Regions from separate parts of the Homo sapiens genome. Here region 1 is linked to region 2. Evidence: promoter capture Hi-C in 16 types of primary human blood cells and fetal thymus (Javierre and others, 2016). All regions are on one chromosome and are shown on one strand. Each heading gives the region's core, a stretch centred on a gene start or on the middle of the fragment in contact. The rest is flanking DNA. Distances are from core to core; before and after follow the strand shown.

Evidence for each region. Contacts are between HindIII fragments. The CHiCAGO score rates a contact against its expected background, and 5 or more counts as called.
Region 1: a fragment that was not itself captured here is called in contact with the fragment with the promoter of GLRX3 in region 2 in 1 of 17 cell types (naive B cells); the score reaches 7.4 in naive B cells.

Annotation. Positions count from the first base shown.
Region 1 is chr10:128,262,620-128,269,202 of GRCh38, reverse strand. No RefSeq gene overlaps it. Among named protein-coding and RNA genes, the nearest start is that of LINC01163, 20 kb to the left of the region's middle. The HindIII fragment of the contact is 6,673 bases long and covers 1,015-6,583 here.
Region 2 is chr10:130,135,087-130,141,380 of GRCh38, reverse strand. It overlaps GLRX3 (glutaredoxin 3), which reads right to left and starts at 4,990. Exons shown (of 11, transcript NM_006541.5): 1 at 4,869-4,990. The coding sequence starts at 4,960. It overlaps LOC105378561 (a long non-coding RNA gene), which reads left to right and starts at 5,010. Exons shown (of 6, transcript XR_001747659.2): 1 at 5,010-6,294. RefSeq lists enhancers at 2,610-3,244, 3,245-3,880, 4,159-4,208 and a silencer at 4,409-5,008. The HindIII fragment of the contact is 5,217 bases long and covers 3,651-6,294 here.

The DNA of each region.
Region 1 (6,583 bases), core at 3,102-5,601, 1.9 Mb after region 2:
GTATATGTGTGTAATATGCCGAAATAAAGTTTCAAGACACAGCTCTTATTCTTACTACATGCTATGAATTCTCACATTTTCTTACCTGTTCACTTTCATTGTGGGACCCACGATTTGAAACATGAGTTGGTCCTCCACCTTCTTTAACAGAAGCTGAACTGAGGTCCTGCTGAGCAGTGGACACCGGGCACTCTGACCCATCCCCCTTGCCTCCATGGCCTGGGTTCCTGGGTTCCTAATCCCCCCAGGTCCTCCAGGTCATCAGAAATCCCTTCACTTTGAATCTTGAGTCACAAGATGGATGATTTGTCACAAGGGGCTGACCTGACCCCACTGCTTTCCAGCGCACCTGGCTCTGGCCCTGGCGGGTCCCCTCCCTCAGAGGTTCACAGGCAGACAGGTGGCTAATCATGTCTGGGGTGACCACATGCAAGAGGCCACTCTCTCCTGCCTGCATTTGGTCCTGGTAAGGCCTCCAAGGAAAGGGCGCAGATGTGCTCAGTGTCCTAGCCCACTGGAGAGGACCAGGGATCTTTCCAGACTCCCAGAGGCCTCTCTATGCCCTCCCCTTCGCTAGCACAGCTCTGAACCAGCATCAGGTAAGCAAATGCAGGACCCTCCCTCAGACCGGGGCCGCACAGCAGGACGCAGCCCCTTTGCCTGAGCGGTCCGGTGGTGTCTGGCAGGTCAGAGCCGCTCTGTGCCCCACCTGCTTCCTTCTTCCCTGTTCAGGAAACAAAGCTCGAGAGTCCAGCTGCACGGGGGACTCCGTGAGGACCCCACGGGCAATTCCTAAGTTGGAAAGCAGCAGCTCAGAAGGGCAGCGGGGTCTCTGGGAGTCCTGATTGCCCAGGGGGAGAGCAAGGCTGGACTCCCTCCATCACGCTGAGGGCACCAGGAAAGAAGGCCCTCACTTTCCTGCCTCTTCCCGCCTGCTCTGCAGCCTCTCCAGGAGGAACCCTCGGGGTGGAGCGGCGCATTCACTGCACTGAGCCCCCGACTCTTTTTAAAGCTTAAGAGCGCCATCTTGTGCATGACAGGAGCAACCGCGGGACACCAGTTTCCCAGCGGCTGAGCAGAGGGAGCTGCCTTCCCTCCTTTCTTTCCTTCTTTCTTTCTCTCACTCAGTGAGGCTTCGTGGCCTCTGCAGGGTCCCCTGCAGCCAGAATGTTCTCCGGCTTGAGGTGGGGCATGCAAGACTGTCCCCACCACCCCCTCCTGGGTGGCTTTGCTTTGTGTCCACCCGGCGGGTCTGCAGCAGGGGTGGCCTGTTCCTTGCTCCCCACCACCGACCCCACCCCCAACCCCCCACCTTGGACTCCAGAAGGTCTGCACTGTGGTAAAGAAAACAAGAGGCAGTGAGTGAATGAGAGAAAGAAGGAAGAGAAGGAAGGAGAGAGGAAAGGAAGGAGGAGGAAGGGAGGGAGGAAAGAAAGGAAAGAGGGAGGAAAAGAAAGAAAGGGAAGAGAAGGGGAAAGAACAAAACGAGGGAAATGAAAACATCGTCTGCACTTGGCTTTCATTCAGAATGTTCTGTGGGTACAGAAAATGTGGTCCCTCTGGGGACTGACACAGATAAAGGAAAACACTGAAAAGTACCCCAAGTCTCCACCTGGCTTGTTTGGGTGAACGGGTCCCCTCAGAGCCTCAGTTTCCCTATCGGTAAAATGAGAAACTTGGGGGGTCATCAGATTCCACCCCGGTGACCTCCTGACGCTGCTTTCACCCTCCAGCACACCAAGCCTCCAGACCTCGCTGCTAGGCTCACAAAAATGCCTGCTTTGGGCCGGGCGCGGTGGCTCACGTCTGTAATCCCAGCACTTTGGGAGGCCGAGGTGGGCGGATCACGAGGTCAGGAGATTGAAACCATCATGGCTAACACGGTGAAATCCCGTCTCTACTAAACATACAAAAAATTAGCCTGGCGTGGTGGTGGGCGCCTGTAGTCCCAGCTACTTGGGAGGCTGAGGCAGGAGAATGGCATGAACCCAGGAAGCAGAGCTTGCAGTGAGCCGAGTTCGTGCCACTGCATTCCAGCCTGGGCGACAGAGTGAGACTCCGTCTCAGACAAAAAAAAAAAAAAAAATGCCTGCTTTGAATTTCAACTTTTTTCCTCTCTGAATTCTAGATTACAATGTTTTCAAGTAGGAAAAAAAAAAAAAGCAGAAAAGAAGAAACCAAAGGAGAAGGACTGAGGGTCCAAATGGTTTTGTAACCAGATGAGGATCTTCATCTCTCTTTTGAAATAAAAATGTAAGGAAAACATCAGTTATGGTACAGGGAAACCAAATACTGCAGAGAGAGAGAGGGAGAGGGCAGCTGTCTCCATCCGGCTGGCTGTGGTCACTTTACTGACACACAAAACCATCCACACCCCAGCTCACCCCAAAGTTTTGGGGGTGGAATAAGGGCATATTGATCAGTTACAGGCAATAGATGGAAAGGCCGTACCCCCACGAAGTTTATCATTGTTTATCAAAAGCCTAAATAATAATAATATCCACTCGCATATGCACATCTATTTCTAAGGTCTTGGAGGGCAAAGGCCTTGTATTTGATTCCTAACTTTCTTGCTTCCATGAGAACCCAGGGATATGAAGGGATTTTTGTCTAAGGTCATGCTGAGAAGAGAATAGCCAGGAATCCTGGCTCCAGTCTCTGCCCTCATCTCCTGTCTTATAAAGTACACATAAAAGGTACAATTATGAGAAATGAGCCCATTTTGTCATGAAATTCCATATCATATCATTGCTCAGGTATTGAAAACAAGCCCAACCTGGGCTGAAGCAGACGTGGGTATTCATGGGGTCCTGTAGTCCTTCCATAATTTAAATGCTACAATGGAGTCCTGAGGTCTAACAAAACAGTATACAGTAAGTCCCCATTTGCAGCAGATTGGTTAAATGGGTGTTTTTTTAATGCAAATTAGTTCAAATTGCTATCAAGAGTAATTATTGTAAAAGAAAGGCGGTGTTTCCATCATCCTTCCCTCATTTCGTTCTTCTATAGTCTCTTTTAAATAACTTAGCCATAAAATTTCAATTGACCACTAAAAAAAAAAAAAAGAAAAGAAAAGAAAAGTGGTGCAATCAGCGGCAGAGAGAAAAGGGTGAAAGAGGTAGAAGGAGGGCCGGCCCCCACAGAGTGAGGGTCCTCACCAGCCCCCTGGCGGAGCCTCCCAGGACCCCCGGTCCTAGATGCCAGCGACCCCGCGCCCCACCGTTCGTGGGCCCCCCGCCCCCCCAACCCGGATCAATCTCTCCCCTCTACCCCGCGCCCCCCGCAGGTCTCTGAGATGTGCGGCTGCCCCGCGGGGCGACTTCCCACGCGCTCCCCTCTGCTATGGTCGGCGGTTCCTCCAGAAGATGGGAAAAAGAGGCCGAGTCCCCACGATGCGCCCCCAGTCGCCAAGGCGCGCGCCCCTTTTCCCCGGCCGCGCAGGTCCGCTGCTGGAGCCAATGCATTATAATAATATTAGGTAAAACAGCGCGAGCATACGAGGTGGAAAATTGCATCTCTTTTGTTCTAAATTTGCCAACGTCTAAATCTTAAGGGAGGTATTTTTATTTTACATATTTGTTAATGGGATCTGTTTCTTATTGCCCAAAAATGCTTAATATACAAAAGGAATCAGATTCTCTTTCTGGCCTTAATTCATCATAACAAACAGAAATAGAAACTTGATTTCAAATTTCGCTCTGCCTCGCATCTCCAATTCATATTCGCGGCACATCCATCATTAATAGCGTCTAGAGGAGCCCTTTTATTTACCTATTATGGCATCGTTTGTAACATAAAACTGTTGTGTTCTCTTTTCATTAACAGATTCAGTTGCAAATGCTGGGGAAAAAAATTACAAAGAGCCCCTTTTTAAAATGTGCACATTTATTGGGATTATTAAATCACAGCAGCTAATAGTGGTTGTCACCAACTTAATTTAAAAAGTTGATTATTACTCAAGCCCTATGTATTCCAGGCCTGATACTGTATAATTAGCAGTTGTGATTATTTAGTTAATTTGTAGATTAGGAACAAGTGTCTGTTTTGAAAAATGTGGCACTCGACCTTCAGACACAGAGAGGGACGAGCCAGCCCCTCTTACCAGGGACAAAAGTATTCTGTCAGAAAAATGCATTTTGATGCAGGTCAACAGGAAAAAGGGGACATTTTACAGATCATCTGCCTGCATCTTTCCAGCCAAAAGTCCAGTGCAAAAGCCACTCCAGAAGTGTTTAAATTAGGTGCCTCCCTGGTGGGGCCAAATCAAATCAAATGGCACACTCGGAGCCTAAACAAGTTAAAAGATGGTCCTTGTGGGTAGGAGCCACTAAAGCCATAGTAACTAGACAAAAACATCCTAGTGACCCTCGCTCAATAGAGATTCGGCCATTAAGACTGGTCCAAGGTGGAGAGCCACTGGACTTGGGAACAGACCCCATCTCTTATGCATTATTTCTATTGCCACTTTGTCATCAGTCATATGATGGTAATAAAATTTGTAACTGTTTCCCTTATACTCCCTGCGATTTACCTCATCTAATAGACAATGCAAATGCTAAAAGGCACATATACATCTTCATTATATAAGCCGGTGTCTGAGCCACTCTCCTCCAGAGACAGTTTTATTCATTTTTATACAATTTGCCTACTGTACAGTACAGATGGTTTCTATTAAGTAAAATATCTGTTTTCTTCCAAATTTTTAGTTTTCATGATTAAATTACTTTAAAATGATGGTACATTGTATTATCTTCTTTCATGACTTAATTTAGCTCAAATACTCCCAGCATAAACTGTAAGCCCAGCTTTATCCACTCAGAAAATCGGCCACATACTGTGATTTTCTGAGGGTTATTTCACCCTGACTGTGATTCCTATTCTGTATCAATTACTTTCGTTCGAGTCTTAACTATATGGATTATTTTCTGGAGATAAATTTGAATATGAATATAAATGGAAATTTTGGACTAATATTAAAATAAGATTTCTTCCCTAAGCTGTTTACAATTTGAGACATTGTTTGTCATTGTTAGTATGCAAGTTTTGCATGCTGGTGTCTCAGCCACAGAGTGGCTTGCAATTCGAAATATTCAAAACTGCTGCCCCCAAGTGGCGGGTCCTTGAGCCGTTTTCCCTTTCCAGCCTTGCTGCATGCACAGTCTGAATTTTGAAGTGGCTGCGTGCACGCTCCTATTTCAGCAGGAAGGAGAGCTTGAAGGTGCAGTCTGTAGCCCATCTTCCCACAGCCGGGATCATTCTCTGGATCTCGGCTCTACTGAACGTTGAGAGCTCATTTCTGAAGGCTTGGAACCATCAGCCTACTTGTCTCACTGTATTAGTGTGATACTAGGCAAATGTGGCCCTGGGAATTTCTCCCTTTTTTAACATTTCGCATATTCATATTTTATTTTTGCACTCACGCTTTCTAACTTTTCCCACTGGAATGCTGCCTGCAGCCAGGTCCAGTGCTGCTGGCTCCTGCCCTCACCGGCTTTTCTCAAACTTGCTCACTTCCCACCAGCCTCAATAGCCCCAGACCTTGAACACAAACCCTCCTGCACTCAAGCAAAAACACAAGGAAGGGAAAATTGCAACATTTCCAGGAGGAAAAGCAGTTTATGCTCAGGAAAGGAAGGGAGCCACCAGCAGTAGGAGAAGAAGAAGAGGGACAGAGGAGGAGAGGGGTCCTGGGCAGTCCAGCTGGAAACGGACTTCACAGCACAGTCTGGGTTCTAGAACGAGCCCGAGGAGCCCTTGCAATTTGCTCTGCAGAAGCCTGCCAAGGCTGGGAGCTGGAGGTGGCCCTCTGGAATTGATGGGTCCACCATGGGCCCTCACCTTGGAGCTCCCTCAGAGCTGTGGGGGCTGATTCCCATCACACCTTCTTTCTGTCTCTCCCTGACACCAGCTGCAGTGGCAGTGGGGCCAGAAAGACCAGAAAGTGTCTCAGTGAGTCCCCAAAGCACATGGCATGACACAGTCCTTCCAGACGTGAGGGTAGAGGAAGACCGGAGAGACTCCAGTTCTAGTCCCAGCTCCCACCTGCGACCCCAGGCAGGCCAATTAACCTATCTGGGGCTCCCTGTCTGGGGGATGTTATGAAGATCAAATGAAATAATAGGCCTGGAGAGGCTTTGAAACAGTTCAAAGTGTCTGACAGACATAAGGCATGATTTTGACTCTGAGGTTCACCTTAGGCTCATCACCAGAGCAGATCCCAGAACTGCACAGCCCGCCCCAGACCAAGAGCAAGTGAGGCCTGGGTGCAGCGACTCATCTCAGAGATAGATTTCTAACTAAAACCAGGTAGTTTGCCATGGTACAGTATCAGAAGCATTTGTTGTTGTTTGTTATTGTTGTGATTGTTTTTGAGACAAGGTCTTGCCCTATGGCCCAGGCTGGATAATGCAGTGGCGGAATCATGGCTCATTGCAGCCTCTACCTCCTGGACTCCAGCAATCTTCCTATCTCAGCCTCCCATGTAGCTGGGACCATAGGTGTGCACCATCATGCCTGGCTAATTTTTGTATTTTTTGTAGAGATGAGGTCTCACTGTGTTGCCCAGGCTGGTCTCGAGCTCCAG
Region 2 (6,294 bases), core at 3,741-6,240:
GTATGTAATACTTCAATTTCTTTTTAAAGCTGGGATACCATTTTCCACCAAATTGACCAAAAAAAAAATTTTTTTTTTCTTTTTTTGAGACAGGGTCTTACTCTAATGCCCAGTCTGGAGTGCAAGGCAAGTGCAGCCTCGACTTCCTGGGCTCAGGTGATCCTCCCACCTCAGCCTCCCAGACTACAGGCATATTTTGTTCTTTGTAAAGTTGGGCTTTGGCCAATGACCAGGCTGGTCTCAAACTCCTGGGCTCAAGCAATCAATCTGCCTGCATTCGCCTCTCAAAGTGCTGGGATTACAGTCATGAGCCACCGTGCCCAGCCAACAAAAGGACTGTTTAAATCATAATATTCAATGATAAAAAGGATGACGAGAAGTACTTTCATGTCCTGCTGGTAAAAATTAAATTGGGACCTTTCAGAAATTTCTTACACATAAGTATCAATCCTAAGGAAGTAATTAAGAGACAAAGATTTTCTGTACATGGATATTTTCCCACTACTTTACGTAGCAAATCAGAAAAATTTCTGATGCTCAATAATAGTTTTTAAATGGTCATAAGAAAACATAAAGCCATTACAAATCAAATTTTCAAAGAACTTTCAACGCCACAGGAAAATACTAATATAACTACATTTTTCAAAAATTAAAGTAGGTTACCAAACTTTATAATAGTATGAGCCCAAATAAGTAAAAAAGAAAAGAAGAAAGTATGCCATAGAAACTGAATTCATTTCAGTTTCATTATTACTAACATGGTTTTGAAGAGTAATTTAACTTCCACATCTGTAAAACAGCAATAACCAACACTCTGGGATGTTGAGAAGATGAAACAAAAATATAAAACATTTGAAAACATTAAAACATGATATTGTTAGTTGAAATTATCCACAATATTCTCCTATTTAATGCTTACCTTCCATTTCTCAATTAAGCACATAATGTCCAATATTATAAGGACATACTATATCTGAAACAAATATAAACGTTATCCCCTTTTGGATTACATGTTACAGTATTCTTTCCATCTTAATGGATAGCCCCATATGCCTGGAGCATTGTTGGAGAAAAACCATCAGACAAAAACCACATTCAAATCCTGACTAATGTAACTTTAGACAATGTAATAAACTTCAGCTCTTCATCAGCAAATAGTTGTTTTTCAATTATTATAGTATTCTGCTACTACATTCATCTGCAGATACCAGCTACTGCTTATTAAACATATCATATACTAAACCTGCTTACTCTGCAAATGGATATTAATAACCCCATTGTACAAACCAGCTGAGATTTCAGCAACTTATGTAAATATCTGATTCAACTACTTAAAAGAAAAAAATTTCAATTCATGTCAAATTTTAAAATTGGAGAAGCGATGATTTGGAAAGTAGATTTAAAATTATTACATCAACACAAGTACTAAAATTCGGGCACTTTTTGTTTTTTGAGACAGGGTCTCACTCTGTCACCCAGGCTGGAGTACAGTGGCAGGATCATAGCTCACCGCAGCTTGGAACTCCTGGGCTCAAACAATCCTCCCACCTCAGCCTCCTGAGTAGCTGGGGACTACAGGCATGCATCACCATGCCTGGCTACTTTTTTTATTTTTTGTAGAGATGGGTTCTATGTTGTTCAAGCTACTCTCAAACTCCTGGCCTCAAGCCATCCTCCCAAAGTGCTGGGTTTGCTGGTGTAAGCCACCATGATATTCTTTTTTTGGTTTTTTTTTTTTTGAGATGGAGTCTTCGTCTGTCGTCCAGGCTGGAGTGCAGTGCCACGATCTTGGCTCACTGCAAGCTCCGCCTCCCAGGTTCATGCCATTCGCCTGCCTCAGCTTCCCGAGTAACTGGGACTACAGGCACCTGCCACCATGCCTGGCTAATTTTTTGTATTTTCTTTAGTAAAGACGGGGTTTCACCGTGTTAGCCAGGATGGTCTCGATCTCCTGACCTCGTGATCCACCCACCTCGGCCTCCCAAAGTGCTGGGATTACAGGCGTGAGCCACCGCGCCCGGCCTAATATTCTTAAATGTCTCCATCTTCACCAAAAAAGCTGCAGAAATGTGCTCCTTCCCCAGATGCCACACATCATTTATCACGTGTCCGTTTGAACTAGTCACTAAGGAAAGTGCACATTGTTTCCTGGGCCATTTCAAGTACAGGCCAGCGGCAAGGATACAACATCCAAATGGTACTTACATTTAAACTTTTATCCATTTTGGCCGGGCGCAGTGGCTCATGCCTGTAATCCCAGCACGCTGGGAAGCGGGCCCATCACCTAAGGTCAGGAGTTCAAGACCAGCCTGGCCAACATGGTGAAACCCATCTCTACTAAAAATGCAAAAATTAGCCAGGCGTGGTGGCGGGCACCTGTAATCCCAGCTACTCAGAAGGCTGAGGCAGGAGAATCATTTGAACCCGTGAGGCAGAGGTTGCAGTGAGCCAAGATTGTGTCACTGCACTCTACTCCAGCCTGGGCAACAGAGAGAGACTCTGTCTCCCCCCCAAAAAAAAAAAAAAAAAAAAACACTTTTATTCATTTTGATAGTTTAAGGACTTTTTAAAACATGAAGCATTTAAAACAAACATGTAAAACAGACAAAACAGCCTTTCAGGTGATGGTAAATTCAAAACGTTTACTTAGGGCAGGTCCACACAAGACCTGCTCATTTCAAGAGGCCACTTCTGGTGACTCCTGTGATTGTGCTGATCTGTACTGGATGAGTCAGAGCCCAGCTTCCATCAGTGAGTAAATGTCACATGTCCCTCCCCAACCCCTGCTTTTTTCCGTAACAATTTCCCAGGTAAACCTGAAATGCCTAAAGAGCTGTTTAAATAACACTTTAATTTCATCACCCCCATAAAGCATTTCTAACCATTAGTCAGTAACTCGCACCCCTCCCCATTTCCAAAGGCAACACCCCATCTCACCTGCACTCTCCATTGCAAAATCAGAGTACTACTTGCCTCTAATTCAAATTCAGTCGGCAAAATTTCACTCAATTTAGATCAACAGGGCAGGTCACGGGGGCTCAAGCCTGTAATCCCGATACTTTACAAGGCCGAGGCAGGCGAATCACTTGAGCTCAGGAGTTCCAGAGACCAGCCTGGGCAACATGAGGAAACCCTGCCTCTACGAAAAATACACAAATTAGCCCAGCGTGGTGGACCGCACGTGTAGTCCCAGATACTCAGGAGGCTGAGGTGGGAGGATCGCTTGAACCCAGGAGGTAGAGGCTGCAGTGAGCCGAGATCACGCCACTGCACTCAGCCTGGGCAACAGAGCAACAGCCTGTCTCGAAAACAAACAAAACAAAATTTAGATCAATAAGCATTTCTGGCCGGACGTGGTAGCTCACACCTGTAATCCCAACCCTTTGGGAGGCTGAGGAGGGCAGATCGCTCGAGTCCAGAAGGTCGAGACGAGGCTGGGCAACATGGCGAGACCTCGTCTCTATAAAAAAAAATAAAAATTAGACGGGCGTGGTGGTGAGCACCTGTGGTCCCAGCTACTCGGGAGGATGAGGTGGGTCGATCACTTGAGCCTGGGAGGCGGAGGCTGCAGGGAGCCGTGATCGCTCCACTACACTGCAGCCTGGGTGACAGAGCCAGACCCTGTCTCAAAAACAAAACAAAACAAAGCTTTTTGCCTGTGAATTCCATGAACCATTCTACTTCCTACTGAAATACTAAGTGCCAACATCTACTGAGTGCTTCCTGCATACTAGGCATTGTATTATTTGTATTTTACATACGTCATCTCATTTAACCCTCACAACAACCCTGAGGTACTAACAGGTGCTAATCTATGTCACCGTCGGGAAACTGAGGCTTGGGCATGAAACGTGCCCAGGGGTTACATGGCTACTGAGTGGCTGCGGTGGGACTGGATCCCAGGCAATCCGACATAAGAGTTCCCATAACAACCGCTAATAATACAACTAAGAGAACAACTCAGTCCTTGGAGTAGTCTACAATGTGAGGTGGTATTATCACGGAGAGTCCACGTGCAGACCTTTCCCTGCAGGCACGCACGCTAGTAAGCATTTACTCGTAAGCATGCTTGCAGTTCAGAGCTTCTAGTCCACCCAGAAAACGCTTTCTATGCATTCCTCTGGATCTCCTTTTGTAGTCTTCCCAGGGATTGAAGACCTGGACACCGGCGCCAAATCTGAACAGACTCTCACTACACCAGTTCATGGAACAGGAAATCTCTGTCTCCGGCAACAGGTTAAGTCTGAAGACTGAGGCTACCTGCTGTCCAACAAACTTTAAAGGCTGACTTCAAAAGGCAGCCAGGCCTAGCTAATGCAACGGGGCCTTCCCTCGCCGCTCTTCCTGCGACAGGGGCGTTCCTGAAGGGAGGCTGAAGAGCAATGGGCCGACGCCGAGCCTGCCGCTCCCTCCCGGCGGGCACAGGAAAGGTGGAGCCCGCAGCCGTGGGTCCCGCTCCGTGGCGCGGAGGGCCGGGGTCTCGGCGCCGCCCCGTCCCCCGCCCCGCCACTGCGGCACGGCTGAGTCACCACCGCCTCCGTCCCGCGGCGGGGCCGCCCAGGCCAGAGGCCGGGAAGGTCGCGTCCCCCGGGCTTGGACAGCCGTCGGGGTCGGAGCCAGGGCTGGGGCCGGGGCTTCCAGGCGAGCCTCGCGCCCTGCTCGCTGTTCCGGGGCGGGGAACCTGCGGCTCGGGCCACTCACGCGGAGGCTCGGGGGAGTCTACGGGTGGCGCCGGGCCCGGTCCCCCGAGGCCGAAGGGAGCCGGGCACCAAGAAGCCAGGCTGGGCCACCCGCCGCCCCACACCGGCCCGGTCTCGCGGCCGCTCCCGCTCCGGCTCCTCACTCCTACCGCTCGCCGCCCCGCTTACTTGGCTTTGAGGCGCAGCAGCTCCTCAAACTGCCCGGCTGAGCCGACCTCCTCCACGGCCGCTACAGCTGCCTCAGCCGCCCCCGCCGCCATGCTGCCGCCGCCAGACAGAAGCAATCCAGTGCCGGCGGCCGGATGTGGGCGGGGCCACGGGGAGCTGAGCGGCTGCGCGAGGGAAAGCCCCGCCCCTGCCTGCGCTGAGGCTGCCGAGCCTGAGAAATCCCAAAAGGGGCCTCGGCGGCGGGCTCTGGATCCCGCTGGGGGGCTCTGACCCTGCCAAGTCTGGGCACTCCGCTGCGGGCCTCCTGGCTCCCGGGGTTCATGGCTGTTATGGTTCCTGGCTGTCGGGGCTCCTGGCTTTCGGGGCTCCCTGGCTGAAGGGGCTCCTGGCTGTAGGGGCTCCTGGCTATGGAGGTTCCCGGTTATAAGGGCTTCTGGATGTAGTGGATTCTGGCCGTCGAGGTCCCTGGCTGTCGGGGCTCCTGGCCGTAATGGCCCCTGGCTGTCGGGACCCCTGGGTGTCGGGGTTCCTGGCTGTCGGGACCCCTGGGTGTCGGGGTTCCTGACTGTAGGGGCTCCTGGGTGTTAGGGTTCCTGGCTATAGCAGGGGCTCCTGGGTGTCGGGGTTCCTTGCTGTCAGGGCTCCTGGTGGTAGAGGCTTCTTGCTGTTGGCTTCCTGGCTGTCGGGGTGACTGGGTGTCAGGGCTCCTGGTGTTAGGGTTCCTGGCTTCCTGGCTGTAGTAGGGGCTCCTGGGTGTCGGGGTTCCTTGCTGTCAGGGCTCCTGGTGGTAGAGGCTTCTGGCTGTTGGGGTTCCTGGGTGCCAGGGCTCCTGGGTGTCAGGGTTCCTGGCTGTCAGGACACCTGACTCCTGAGGCTCCTGGCTTTTGGGGCTCCAGACCTTCCTTGCACTTCCTGTGTCTCCTGGGTCTGTAATAGAAGGGGCCGGTGGAGGGGTGGGGGTGAGACATGTGAGTGAAAGTGAAGTCAGATGTGTACATTTAGGAAGCTGAAATTATCAAAAATGAAATTGCATAAAGGTGAGGAAGAACTGGGAGGTCTGGGAACAGAAGTGGTAGATCTTGAACTTCAACACAGACAGGGTGCTTCCAATTCAGTCCTGGGACCTGAACCCGGAGCCCACAGCATGTCCCTCCTCCCCTGGCCCTCCGCGCGTGCCGCCACTCATTGCAGCCCCACAGAGCCATCACCCATTGTAACCTCAGAACAGAAGGGGCTGGGTGGGTCCACAGATCCCTGCACTCCTCCCGTCTTGCCTCCTTGGATGATCCCTGGCTTGTCTTTCTCCCTTGGGAATCCCCCTGATGTTGGCTCTCCATGTGGTGTACTCTGTACCCCACACCCCATGCTTCCCACACACCTTCTGGCCTGAGTAATCTCCATGCCCCCAGTGACATCAACCTCCAGG